Linked DNA regions of Homo sapiens: region 1 is linked to region 2. Evidence: promoter capture Hi-C in 16 types of primary human blood cells and fetal thymus (Javierre and others, 2016). All regions are on one chromosome and are shown on one strand. Each heading gives the region's core, a stretch centred on a gene start or on the middle of the fragment in contact. The rest is flanking DNA. Distances are from core to core; before and after follow the strand shown.

Region 1 (6,325 bases), core at 2,139-4,638, 41 kb before region 2:
GGAGCCTGGGGGAGATCCGGTTCTCTCCCAGTCAGCCTTGCTGTGCGCGGCTTCTTGCCACCGTTTAGAAATGGGCTTGGCAGCACAACCTCGTGGAGGTGAGACTGGGGCTCCTGGTTCTGCAAGTACCTCGCATACAGCAGGTGCTTCATTAATGCCTCGTGACATGAACAGGGCAGTGAGGTGGTAGCTGAAAGAGCAGGGTCCAGCCCTCCCCATCCCCTGTGACCCTGAGCCATCACTTACACAGCTTAGTTTGTCTTCTTGAAGGGGTTGGGGCTCATACTCTCAAATGAGACTGAAGGTGTGAAAACACCCTGAGCACTGAGGCGTGGGGTCCCCTTAGGTTCTCCTTAGCCTCGTCATGCACTGGATGACGTCTGAGGTCCCTGAAGCTCTGTTGCTGGTGCCCAGGTAGGACCCAAACCCTGCCCGTTCCTTTTAAAACCCTCATACTGTCTCTTAACGCCCAGTGCCAACCTGTGCACTGAGCAGCCCCCGCCAGGAGCATCTTTAGCAGGGTCTTATGCCTGCACCTAGGGCTATTGGTCTGAGCGTCTTTGAGAGCCATTTCAGGGACCCCAAACCACAAATGCAGAATCCCTCGAAGGCTTATCACAATGCACTGGAATTGTGCATTCTCAGTGGGTGTTCTGGCCCTGTCCTGGCACGAGAGAGTGGAGAATAGCAGAATGGAAAGGACAGAGCTTCTGCATCAAATTGACCTGGGTTCCAAGTCAGCACCAAAAACTCCACTGAAAGGGTCTCCCAAGATGCTGAGCACCAATACCCATGCTCAGAGATGACAATCAAGGCAGAAGAAAGAGTAAAGAAGGAAATAGGCACCCAGAAAACACAACTTTGAGTCTGGCCATGCGATTTAAAGTAAAATGACAACAAACTGCACAGGTCAGCAGGAAAAGTCTTCAGAGAAGTGCTCCAAAGCTGTCCTGGCCAGCGTCATGCCTGCTCTGGTAGGAAGGACAAGGCATCCAGGGAGAGAGTTCTTGCTTACCAAAGGGGAGTCTGAGTCCAGAGACGGGAGCTGGTCTTTGACAGCCTTGAGGATGGCATCCCAGGGCCCCATCTGGGAGGCCCAGGGAGAGCCCAGCGAGGGTGCCATGCCTTTATCGTTGGATGCCATGAGGGCCCAGGCTTCCAGATGCCTTCTCAGTGCACCATAATCCGGGGAGCTCTGTGGGGTACACAGGGTGATGGAAGAGGGTCCGGGCCACTGAAGGTCAGGAGAGCAGGGGCTGCTCTACCAGCTGTAGGAGACCAAACAGGCTGGCAGGCCTCACCACCTGCCTCAGTTTCCTTCTAGTTATGCAAGCTCCTGTTAGTGCCAGGCACTGTGTGTGTACGTGTGTGTGTGTGTTCCCACTCATGCACACATGTGGAGCCTGCAGGTATATAATGTATATAGTGATATATACATAATAATATACAAATATATGTATTGATATAAATATACCTATGTAGATATATGTACATGTTATATAGAATGCCATATGTACGATATATAATGATATATAGGTATATTTTATATATACCCCATATAGCATAACTATTCTCTTCATTTCATAGGCTCAGGGTGTTTAGTAAATAGCAACAGTGGACTCTGAATCAGGGGGAATTTCAAGTCCTACTACCCTTTACTGCCCTTTACCAAGGAACAGAAGACACCTTGCTTTTTTGTTTTGGAGACAGGGTCTGGCTTTGTCGCCCAGGCTAGAGTGCAGTGGTACAATGATAGCTCACTGAAGCCTCGGCCTCCTGAGCTCAAGTGATCCTCCCACCTCAGCCTCCTGAATAACTGGGACTACAGGTGTGTACCACCACATCTGGCTAACATTTTTATTTTTTGTAGAGATGGAGTCTCCCTGTTGCCCAGGCTGGTCTCAAACTCCTGGCCTCAAGTGATCCTCTTGCCTCAGCCTCCCAAAGTGCTGGGATTACAGGCATGTGCCATCGCGCCTGGCTGACAGTTTGGAGTCACTAAGTGATTTTTTTTTTTTTTTGGAGTCACTACTCTGACCAGCCCCTGCATTTATATCTTAGAGTCTTAAAGGAGATGGTCCTGTTATTCAGGGGGCTGGGGAGCTTGAGCTTGAGAGCTGGGGGGTGAGGGTCCTCTAGAGCCAGTGTCAGGAGAACTCTGCAGCTCGAGAGGCCGCTGTGGCTTTGGCCCTGCAGTCAGTGCCCGTTCATCCCCAATCAGGGCAGCGGCAGGAGATGTGAATTGGGGGCTGCTTGCTTCCTCTGTACTTCTGGGAATAGGGCAGGTGCTTGGTGCACTCTGAACTGGGAGCAGCGGGTTGGGGACGCATCTGGTGCACACAGCCAGCGGGTGTTTTTTGTAACTAGAGCTCTGTTCCGCAATTCAGGGCACAGTATTTCTTAGGGCAACAGAATCGTCGGGATGAAGAGGGCCTCCAGAGACTCTGATAAACCCTTCAGGCGGACAAGACAATAGGGGAGGGAACGGCATTACCGGCAGAAGGAAGAGCATGTACAGTAGCTCAAAGGAATGAACCGCCCAACAGGTTTAAGGGAAGAAAGTGTCAGTTGCTGGACTCTCCGGTGAAAACGGACCAGACAATGCAGGGCCCTGAACGCCAAGTTGAGGAGCTCAGAGCATCCAGAAGGCGAAGGGGAGGCTCGGAGCCGCCTCTGAATAACGGCCTTCCGGCTCCGTCTCGGGGTGGGTTTCTCAGCTGCAGCCTGTTAGCCCCGCCACAGCCCCGCCCCGGTTCTCAGAGCCCCGCCCCCAGCCGGCCTGCCACGAGGCTGCCGGTTGTTATGGCAACCAGACGCCAACAGCCTCCCGGGTCGAGCTTTTAAATTTTAAAGCTGTGGAAGTGGAAAGCCCATCGCTCCTCCTCTCACCCACCCCCAGCCCGTATTTCCCCGCGTTTTGTTCAACTCCCTGCAGGCGCAGCAGGCCCGAGGCCCCTCACCTCAGGCCTCTGCCTCCACTCCCCGCGCTGTCCTGACAGCGCTATAAACAGCCTCCAGCGCGTCACTCCGCTCGCGTCCGCCCCTCGGGCCGCGCCGCAGGTACAGAGGCTGTCCCCTTCTTCAGCACTCTCCCTCTCAGCGGAGCTTTACATTACTAGACTGCCTCCGCCTTCCCCCCACCCCGCCCAGCTCCTCTTTCGGGCCTTTGCGCGTCCTGCCTCTCCTGCAATGGGATTGGTTCCCCTGGAGGGCGGGGACGGAGCAGGACAAACACCACTAGCTCATTGGCTACCGCGGGCATCAGACAGCGAGCCGGGAAGCTGACCGGAAGGTCCGGGTGCGGGACGTGTGCATTCCACGGCGCCCGGGAGCTGTCCCGGTGCCGACCCGCGAGCTTCCCGGCGTGCTCCGCGCCCTCCCGCAACTACTTCCGGGGCGGGTGCCGGGGGCGGTGCCCCGGCGAGGGAGCGTGGCGGCGAGCTGTTTGGGGGGGGTTGGCGACGGCAGCCCGAGGGCGGCGCAAGGCCTGAGGCCCAGCACAGGTGGGTTCCGCGGCGGCCCGGCCCCAGCACTTGCCGGCACCTGCAGCCCGCCTAGACCCGGCGCTCGGGCGTCCCGCGCTGCACTTGCTCGCCGCGTGACTGGAGGACCGAGCCCCCACATTTTCTTTATGTGGTTGTGGTGGGGGCACAGTAATGCCCTGTGCGCCGTAGCGTTCCTGTGGGGATGTGGCCGGGGGGCGTCGGGAAGCGTCACTGCTGTGAGTTACGGGTTTGTCGGCCAGGGACCCGCCCCGGGGCCAGTGAGCTACCTTTGCGATGCGGTTCCACGGGGCGAGAGGGGGTGCCTGGGTGCTTTCACAGACCTCCTCTGTGGGCGTGACAGTTACCACCAGCATCACATTTGTTAAGATTTTTAAAAATTTTTTAATTTTTGTGGGTACGTAGTAGGTGTATATATTTATGGCGTATATGAGAGATTTTGATACAGGCATGCAGTTCGTAATAATCACATGTAAAATGGGGGTCTCCATCCCTTCAAGCATTTATCCTTTGTGTTACAAACAATATGATTATACTCTTTGAATTATTTTTAAATGTGCAGCCGGGCGCGGTGGCTCACTCACGCCTGTAATCCTAGCACTTTGGGAGGCAAAGGCGGGCGGATCACCTGAAGTCAAGGATTTGAGACCAGCCTGGCCAACATGGGGACACTTCGTCTCTACTAAACATACGAAAACTAGGCTGGCATGGTGGCTCATACCTGTAATCTCAGCTACTCGGGAAGCTGAGGCAGGAGAATCGCTTGAACCCAGGAGGCGGAGGTTGCATTGAGCCGAGATCACGCCGCTGCACTCTAGCCTGGGTAACAGAGTGAGATTATGTCTCAAAAAAAATAATAATAAATAAATAAAATGTGCAATTAGATTATATTGACTATAGTCACCCTGTTGTGCGGTCAAATACTAGATCTTTTTTTTTTTTTTTTTTTTTTTGAGACGGAGTCTCGCTTTGTCGCCCAGGCTGGAGTGCAGTGGCTTGATCAAATACTAGATCTTATTCATTCTGTTTTTTTTGTATCCATTAAGCATCCCCACCCTCCACTACCCTTCCCAGCCTTGGTTACACTAGAAGTAACCATCCTTCTACTTTCTATGTCCATGAGTTCAGTTGTTTTGATTTTTAGATAACCACAAATAATTGAGAACATGCAATATTTATCTTTCTGTGCCTGGCTTATTTCACTAAACATAACGATCTCCGCTTCCATCCATGTTTTTGCAAATGATAGGATCTCATTCTTTTTTTATGGCTGAATAGTACTCCATTGTGTCTAAGTACCACATTTTCTTTAGGATTCACTGTAAAGGTAACAGATACTTAGCATTTTCAGAATGGACAGAACCAAAAAGTTGAATGAAAACTAAAACGTCTTATCTCTAATGCTACTTTACACCACACCACTCGGGATGGGACATTTTAGTTTTCACTTTAGTGTTTTTTTTTTGTTTTTTTTTTTGAGACAGAATTTCGCTCTGTTGCCCAGGCTGGAGTGCAGTGGCTTGAGCTCGGCTCACTGCAATCGCCTCCCAGGCTCAAGCGATTCTCTTGCCTCAGCCTCCTGAGTACTGAGACTACAGGCGCCCACCACCACACCCAGCTAATTTTTGTAATTTTAGTAAAGATGGGAGTTCACCATTTTGGCCAGGGTGGTCTCGAACTCCTGGCCTCAAGTGGTCCGTCACGCTTGGTCTGGTTCTCATTGTCCTTCAGACCTCTGGGGATGTCAGATATGCAAGTCTCCAGTAAATAGAGAACACGGCCTCACCCTGCAGGAGGCCTTTGGCGTGGAAGAGACATGCCCAGTGAAGGCTTGAGGGAGGTATGGAAGGGACTCTGAACTGACCCTCAGCTCGTTTGGTTTCTTATCCAGGCTTCGTTGGCCAGGGCTGTTAGGGTGGGATTCTCACCTGCAAAGTGAGGGAAGGGCACTGCACGATCTTGGGCTCTGCTAGCTGAAGAGGTGGTGGCTCCAGGAAGGAGGGCTTTGCTTGCCCCACCGCACCTACACACACTCTTCACCAAGGGTCTGTGAAGTGTTCGTCTCCCACATTGGTGGCTTGTTTCTTTAGCCATCTTGGCTGTCACCTGGGGCTTGGAAGCATTCTTTAATAGAAACTGAGGTCCTCATCGCATCTATTAACTACCATAGCACCTGTAGGTCATCACAACCTGACAAGGCCTTTGTTTTCGCCTTTGCTCCCTTTCCTACCCTTGTTTCCTGGCACTCTTGTACCTAAGGATTCTACTAGGAAGCTGATGACCTTGCCTTGATTTGGGGATTCCTGGTGTGCCGTTACCCATGTAGGCCCATCTCGGGGAAAGTGTTACCTCACCAGTTCACCGGCCTGTTATATTTCCCCCCATAGCTCTCTCTTCAAAGGATGCCTAAGTGGATTCCTATTCAGTTGACGGTTGCTGCGTGCCACCAGTCACATCCTGGTTTGTCTGTTGGGGAATTGCTTTCTATTTTTTTCAGAAAAATTTATTTTTACTTTTTTGAAATTTTCAATTTCATAACCATTCCAGAAAAATTAATTTATATTTAAAATTTACAGGCCAGGTGCAGTGGCTCACGCCTATATTTCCAGGACTTTGAGAGGCTGAGGCGGGCGGATCACCTGAGGTGAGGAGTTCGAGACCAGCCTGGCCAACATGGTGAAACCCCCGTCTCTACTAAAAATACAAAAATTAGCCTAACATGATGGCGCACACCTGTAATCTCAGCTATTCAGGTGGCTGAGGCTCAAGAAGCCCTTAAACCCAGGAGGCAGAGGTTCCAGTGAGCTGAAATCATGCCACTG
Region 2 (7,056 bases), core at 2,956-5,455:
CCCAGGGGTAGGAGGTACTCGAGAAAGGCCCTGTGCCTTGGCTGGCTGTGCTGTGCTGAGACCGCCAGTGACTTCTGTAGCCTCCAGCCAGGGCCCAGACCCGGGTCCCCACCGGCAGAGCTTTGCCTTCTCTCGGGCTGACCCGGGCCTCGTAGTGTTTGCTCAGCCTGTGGGAGGAAGGGCACAACAGGGCTTCCCTGCCTCGGCCTTGGGAGGTTGCTTAGACACTGTCAGGCGGGTAGGGAGGTTCTGATCCAAGCAGGTTCTCCTGGTTGCATGGGCTCAGAATAAAGCAGGGCCTGTGGGGACGCAGACCCCCAGCTAACTCGGTCCCTGCACCTGCACCACAGACTCCAAGGGCTGGCAAGCGTCCCTGCAGGCCATGAGCCTCCCCGAGCTCTCGGGAGCCCTGGAGGACCGTGTCCGTGAGATGGGTGAGTCTCCGGGGACCAGACGACTGAGCGCTCCTTTTGTTTCCGAGGGAGGCAAAGGGACCCCTTTCCAGGGAAAGCGGGTTTGTGTCTCTCTACCCCAAGGCTGACCTCGGGGCTGGGGCCATAACGGGTGAGGGGCAGGTCACATCCTGCAGCTGAGACCCCGGGGCAGCACCACCCAGCCCTCCTGAGCCTGGCCGGGAGAGGCTCAAGGTCATCATTCCTCAGGGCAAGCACTGTGCTTAGTGACCCAGAGCCTGGAGAAGCTGCAGGTGCTGAACGGGAAGAAGTGGCGGGAGACCTAGCCTGCGGGCCGGTGAGTGTCTGCCAGCCTGGATCCCGCGTGGTGGGAGCAGCAGGGCCTGTCTGGGCGGCTGCAGGTGTGGGTATGCACCCACCTGTCCCCCTCCCTTCTCACCGGGGCTTTTTCTTTCAGAATCTGACGTTGGGTGATTGGTCCACCCTGAAGCTGTGTGCCAGGGAGTGAGGAGGACAGTGAGCAGGTAGCTGCCATGTGCAGCCCAGGCCCAGTGGGGGCCAGAGGATCAGGCCCCGGGAGCAGCCGGCAGACAGAGGCAAGACGGGGGCTGCGGCCCTGGCTCGGCAGCTCGGGCCAGCACTGAGGCGGGACGAGGGCCTCACCCAGAACCTCGTGGTGAGGCCCAGAGTTCATGGGCTGCCCTGGCCCATACCAGGCAGGGCCCTGGGGGGAAAGTGTATCCATATACACGCACAGGTGCCAACTGAGGTGGGACCTTAGGAATGAGGACTGGGGCACCTGGAAAATGCCATTTTTTGGAAAATAAAATTTAAGAACAGCTAGTGAAGGGCTCAGTTCTGGTCACATGACATGAGGCACTGGCCAATGCAGCAACCCTGACTGCCCTGTCCTCTGCTGTTCAGGGGTGTGTCTTTTGCTCCTGGAGCCCAGACAACTCAAGATAAGGCTTTGAGAGCCAAGAACATCCCCAGCCCGCCGTAGCACAGGGCCTCCCCCGGGACATGCTGCTCTCACACCGAGCTCTGAGATGGAGCTGGGCACACTGCCTCCCTCACCGGGCCAGGCATGGGCTGTGCAAATTTTCTGACGATGCCGCTGGAGTCTTTCCAGATGTGGGGCTGTAGGAGACCACGAGGGATGGCTCTGCTGCTGTCCTTCTGCACAGTAAGCCTGCACTTCTACACCATCCCCTGGAGCTGCTTGCAGACAGTGGGGAATGGTGGGTTTGCAAAGCAAAGCAGGTCAGCCCAGGTGCAGCCAGGGCCACCAGGATCAGGAAGGGGAGCCTGCCCTGAAGGTCTCGGCCCAGACGCCCCAACCTGGCTGATGGGCACAGCATTCATGCTGGGAGTGCCCCCAGTAAACACTGGGGAACAAACGTGCCCCTGGCTGGGGCAGCTCCTCCCTCCCCCACCTAGGGCAGGGGGCCTGAGCTGGTTCCATCCAGAACCAAAACAAACACACAGGGCAGCTGAGAAACACACAGAGCAGCTGCGGAGCGACTTTATTGTCTTCTCCTTCGACAGCTTCGTTGTACATAGCTGGGCCCCCGAGGCCCTGACTGTCCCTGGGAACCAAGCCACGTGGGGTGAAGCTACTTTGAAACCTCACCCACAGTTCACACGTGGTGAAAGAGAAAATCTAGCAAAGTAAATCCAACAACAACCCAAATTAACAGTATTATTAACTTCCTACCCCAAGCTGGCTCTCCCCCAGGCCCTGAACTGGCTCAGGAAGGAGGCAGGAATGAGCTGACCGAGACAAGGCATCCTCCACCCACACATCCCATCTTCTGAGTGGTCCCAGAGCTGTGCGCCACCCCTGTGGGACAATCAGGCACTCCTGGGTCTCTACCAGCTGTGATGAGACGTACAAGAGGAGGGTCTGAGCCCAGAATAAACAAGAGCATCCTGAGGCTGGAGAGGCAGGCCCAGTGTGCCCGGACCACCCTGCTCTGCCTGAGAGGATGGGCTGGGTTCCAGCTGGCCCGGCCGCCACCTAGTGACTGCTTGGGACAGTGGAGATGATGACAGGATGCCCACTCGCCCTAGGCAGTCAGAAGCGGGGTACACACAAACACTCTAGAAGCCACACTTAGCAGGAATTCCCAGTCTTCCGGCCCAGGGGAGGGTGCCACCAGCTCAGGCAGCCCTCAAGAGGAGGCCGGGAGCAACTTCTCCAGGGCCTTCTTCTGCTTCTCGGTGGCTGCAGCCAGGGCCTCAACCAGCTTCTCCTCGGGCATCATGTTGAGCACCTTGAGGGCAAAGAGGAGCTGGCACTTAGCCGTGCTCACGAAGGCGTTGCTCAGGAAGTTGGGGAAGCCTCCGACTCGGTCCTTCTGGGTGTACAGCGGGACCCGCACGAGGCCCAGCACCTGCGCAGACAGGAGGTAGGGGTTGGGGCCAGGCCTGCCACACAATGGCACCTCCAGCAGGAGGGGCCTGGAAGCTATGAGGCCAGGGTATGAGCAGCCAGCTTTGCCAAGGACTTAATGGGAGACCCACGCAGGGCCTGGCAGAAGCCAGCCAGCTCCCTCGGAGCAGTGCAGCCCCCTCCTCCCCAAGCAAGTGTGGAGGCTGACCCCATGCACTCCCCCCCCTCGTACCCAGGCCACCCCACCCCGGGGTCCGCACCCCATGCTCCCCCCGTCCACCCAACGAAGCCTGAACACCCGCAGTCCAGCCCTTCCAGACCACAAAGTACAAATCCCAAGAGCCTTCACGCCCAACATGAGGTTCCCAAGTTTTACAACCCCCGCTGTGCTCAAGTTTCCCAACTCCCCAAGCAATCCCCGCTCCTCCCCCATCCCTTCCTCCCCACCGATCCCACTCCCCCACTCCCAGGATTGGCAATGGCAGGCAGCAAGGCGGATGTAACACAGCCCTGAGGGAGCCCCAGCGCCGGCCCCCACCCCCGCCCCTCCTTTCCCGGCCTCCCAGCCCCAGACCCCTCTCCCCACCCCATTGCTGGAGACAGCGACACCCGACCCAGCCCGGCCAGGGGACCCTCAGGAGACGTGTTACCCATCGGTGCCTTCCACGGGGCCAGAGCCAAACCCCGGGGCGGGGGGCGGGGCCCGGGCGGCGGCCCCACCTCCAGGCCGTGGTCGCGCGAGTGCACCGCGCTGATCTCCACGGCGTGCAGCTGCTCCAGCGTCAGCTGCCGCGCGTACAGGTGCGCCACGACGCGGTGTGGGCCCTCGGTCAGGTGCGAGCTCAGGTAGTCGGCCTCGGTGAGGCGCAGGCAGCCCAGGCCCAGGCCCAGCACCCGGTTCAGGCCGTCCTCCAGCGACCAGAAGCGCCGGTCCACGAAGCCCCCGGGGAAGCCCAGCAGCCCGTCGAAACGCATCTGCATCTGCAAGGGAGCGCGGGTCACAGCCGCGGGGTCGACGGACGCCCCCGCCCGGGCCCGCCCGCGCCGGCACCCTCGCCCGCGCCCTCGCCCGTCCTCACCAGCACCGAGAAGCGCATGGGGATGCGGCCGAAGAGCTGCCCAGGGTTGGCGGCGTACAGCATGGCGTGGCACGAGTGGCTCCAGCCCGGCCCTAGGCGCATCGCCTCCACCCGGCTGATCTGCTTCAGCTCCGGAACCGCCGCCGTCGACATCTTGGCACTGACCCCGTCCCCGCCGCTGCCACTTAAGAGCATGCGCGAGCCCGCCCCCGCCGTGCCTCGCCAATCCGCGGGCGGCCGCGCCCCCGGGTCCGGTTCCCCCGCCAATCGCCGGCGCGCCCCGGGACCGAGCCCCTCGCAGCGCCGCGGTGCGTCGTCGAGAGGTGCTGCGGGCGGTGTGCAAAGGAGGGCGGTGCGCGTCAGCCGTCACCCAATAGTCGCACACCCTGGGCGGCGGCCCCGCCTCCGACGGGAGAGCCTAGACGACTGGTCGGTGCCGTGGTGGCTCAAGGTTGACATTGTGGGCGACGAACATCTTCCTTGGCGCCCCAAAGCGGACAGCCGAAATTCCCTGCGGTTTCTCCACCCTCGATGGCGCCGATCCCCTTGCGCCCACCCGTTTCTCCCCAGGAGGCCGACCCGGCCCGCATGGCCCCGTCCATCCGCAATGGCACCCTTGGCACGACCACACGAGCCAGAGATGCCCCGGAGCCTTGCTCCGCCAGCGCCACCGGACCCAAGCCCGGAGGGAGATGGCCTTCGCCTGCCATGCACGACAGCTGTCCCGACCTAGCCACCCTGCTGGCAGGCTCGATCCAGGACAGCACGGGGAGCAGGGCTTGGCAGGGCTTGAGTGCCCCAGTCCCCGAGTCCACGCTGGGTCAGGGCGGACGACCGGGAGCTCTGGGGCTCTGTGGACCCAGCTTGCTGGGCAGAAAGTGACTTAAATTCCGGGGCTGGACCTTTCCAGCATCCTCCAAGCCGGGCACCCTGTGCCAGGTACTGTGGGGGGAAGAGGGGTTTCCCCAATTTACGATGAGGAACTTGGAGCTCAGAGAGGGACATAACTTGCCTAAGTACAACTGGCAGTTGATGACAGAGGCAGAATCCCGATTCCACAAGGGCCTGAGGTACTTACCACTTACCTTGTGTTTGTACTGGAGATGTCTCTGGGGCTCAGAAGCATCCGAAACAGCCCAAGGCAGAGCGAGGTGCCCTGAACTCCATGATGGCAAGGCTCACCTCACCAGCAGCAGGGCCCAGGGCCACTTTCCTCCCCACCAGGGGAATGGATTTGCTGAGCACATGAACCCCCCTGCCTGCACTCACAGCATGGGTGCCCAGGGCTGGGGCACAGCCTCGGGAGAGCCGTGCAGTGAGGCCGAGCTCGCTGGCACAGAGAAGGCTGCCTTCAGTGGAGGCAGGCAGGAGAAGAGAGAGGGAGAGGGTGGGCATTGGAAACTCACCTGTTAGGTCCGTGGTGGCCTCAGATGTGGAGAATAAGGACCCAGAGAGGGCACCTCTCTCTCCTCCTGTGGCCACCAGTGGGTCAGGGGTCACATGGGACAGCTGCAAGCAGCAGGGGAAGTCCAGATTCCAGAGTGAGCGACCATGTGAGAAGGCGAGAGGGCAGCGAGGGGAAGGGTCCTCTCACCCAAAGAGGGCCCCACCCCTAGGCAGCCAAGCCCAGCCAGCGCCCAGGGCCCGTGGGACGCAGGGGCAGAGGAGGAGAGGCTCCCCTTGCTGCAGCCCCTCCCCGAGACCAGACATCAATACAAGCGCTGGCTCTTCTGGGAGGTACAGAGGGGGAGCCCATCTGGCCCATGCAAGCACCCGTCTGACACCCTGGGCACCCCTCTACCCACACTGGGATGGGGCCAGACCCAGGCAGGTCAGAGCAGCTGCAGGGCCCATGGGTGGCAGCCTTCTCGGGGCAGGGACTGATGGGCTAGAACACGGGCTTTCCCTCCACCCTCACAGTCTTCAAAGAAGGGCCATGGTGGCAGCTTGACCTGCACGCAAAGGAGCTGGGGCCCTGAGTGGTAGGCAGTGGTGTGGTGGGTGCCCTGGGGCACTGGCCACTCCCTGGGCAGGGGAGCGGGGGCTGTGCAGAGGCCTGGGGCCGGGCTCCAGCCTGCGAGCCCACAACCATGGGCAGCTAGACCTGCTCCCACCGTCCGGCCTCCACACGCCAGCCGCAGGGTGCTAGCACTGCTTCTCCGCTTGGAAGCCTGTTTTTAAAACTGACTCCCCCTTATAAAAACACTCCAGCAGCCCCTACAAGCTCTTCAGTATCTATCCAGCACCCTTCACTCCAGCCAGGGGCTCCGTCCCCAGGGGACACATCAGGCTCACTCCTGCCACCTGGAACACTCTTCCAGGGCCAGCTCCTCCTCAGCCCTCAGGGCTGTTTAAGTCTCCTCAGAGAGGCCCTCCCTGCCACCCGGTTAAATGAGACCTTGTACGGGTTCATCTCACCACCATGCTGACTTTCTTCCTAATAGTAACCAAACCTGGCAGGATTCTGATTAGCTGCTGGGCATCTCACTGCCTGGAAGGCAGGCGCCCGGGGCCAGGGCCGGGGCCTCAGCTCTTCTGCCTCCACTGACGCACAGCAGGTGCTCAGCAAATGCCTTGAGATGATCAGGACTAGAGATGGGGACCGGAGCGACTACTCACAAACCTGGAGGCCCTGGGCTCCCCAACCACCTGTTCACGAGAGAGCCCAATCTGGAGGGTGTGGCTTCCCTCCAACCAGACAACTAGCCCTGACAGGGATGGCTGGGAGCTGCCCGTTCTCGTTAGCCCTCACCTTGCTCACTGCCCTGACCCCAGAGGGAAGCCAGGCAGAGGCCGTGGAGCTGCCACGGTGCGGGAGCCACCGCCAACCACCCAGCGGCAAAACTCCGGGTCAGGAAACAGCCACAATCCTGAGGGCTGCACCCGGAGGAAGGAGCAGACAGGATATTGCTGCATGATTTTATTACTATAAATATACAGTAAAAACGAACCAACGATGAGCCCATCTGAGCACATCAGACGGCAGCACATGGGAGTCCCAGCGGGCCACTCTGCGGCCCGAACTTCACGCAAAGCTCTGGCACCAGGACTGATGGCCAGAGGCTGGGGCCTTGGTGGGGGCGGGGGGCGGGCGGTGCAGGGGGCTGTGTGTGTTGTTGGGGAGAGGTGCATGGGGGGAGAGAGGTGCTTGGGGTGGGGTAGAGGTGCG

Evidence for each region. The method cuts DNA at HindIII sites, captures the fragments that hold promoters and counts their contacts. A CHiCAGO score of 5 or more calls a contact.
Region 1: a contact is called between the fragment with the promoter of ANKS3 here and the fragment with the promoter of NUDT16L1 in region 2, in 4 of 17 cell types (erythroblasts, M1 macrophages, M0 macrophages and 1 more). The highest score is 6.6, in erythroblasts.

Annotation. Positions count from the first base shown.
Region 1 is chr16:4,731,334-4,737,658 of GRCh38, reverse strand. It overlaps ANKS3 (ankyrin repeat and sterile alpha motif domain containing 3), which reads left to right and starts at 3,388. Exons shown (of 18, transcript NM_133450.4): 1 at 3,388-3,721; 2 at 6,080-6,147. DNAAF8 (dynein axonemal assembly factor 8) reads right to left here and starts at 3,122. Exons shown (of 10, transcript NM_139170.3): 1 at 2,961-3,122; 2 at 1,016-1,195. The coding sequence starts at 1,144. RefSeq lists silencers at 3,263-3,492, 3,543-3,602. The HindIII fragment of the contact is 25,292 bases long and covers 1-6,325 here.
Region 2 is chr16:4,690,711-4,697,766 of GRCh38, reverse strand. NUDT16L1 (nudix hydrolase 16 like 1) reads right to left here and starts at 4,205. Exons shown (of 3, transcript NM_032349.4): 1 at 3,888-4,205; 2 at 3,529-3,789; 3 at 1,923-2,809. The coding sequence starts at 4,040. The coding sequence ends at 2,588. MGRN1 (mahogunin ring finger 1) reads right to left here. Exons shown (of 17, transcript NM_015246.4): 17 at 6,795-7,056. It overlaps ANKS3 (ankyrin repeat and sterile alpha motif domain containing 3), which reads left to right. Exons shown (of 18, transcript NM_133450.4): 16 at 351-434; 17 at 663-750; 18 at 871-1,256. The coding sequence ends at 739. RefSeq lists enhancers at 2,175-2,675, 3,278-3,785, 3,786-4,293, 4,545-4,634 and silencers at 3,385-3,884, 3,995-4,354, 7,017-7,056. The HindIII fragment of the contact is 13,448 bases long and covers 1-7,056 here.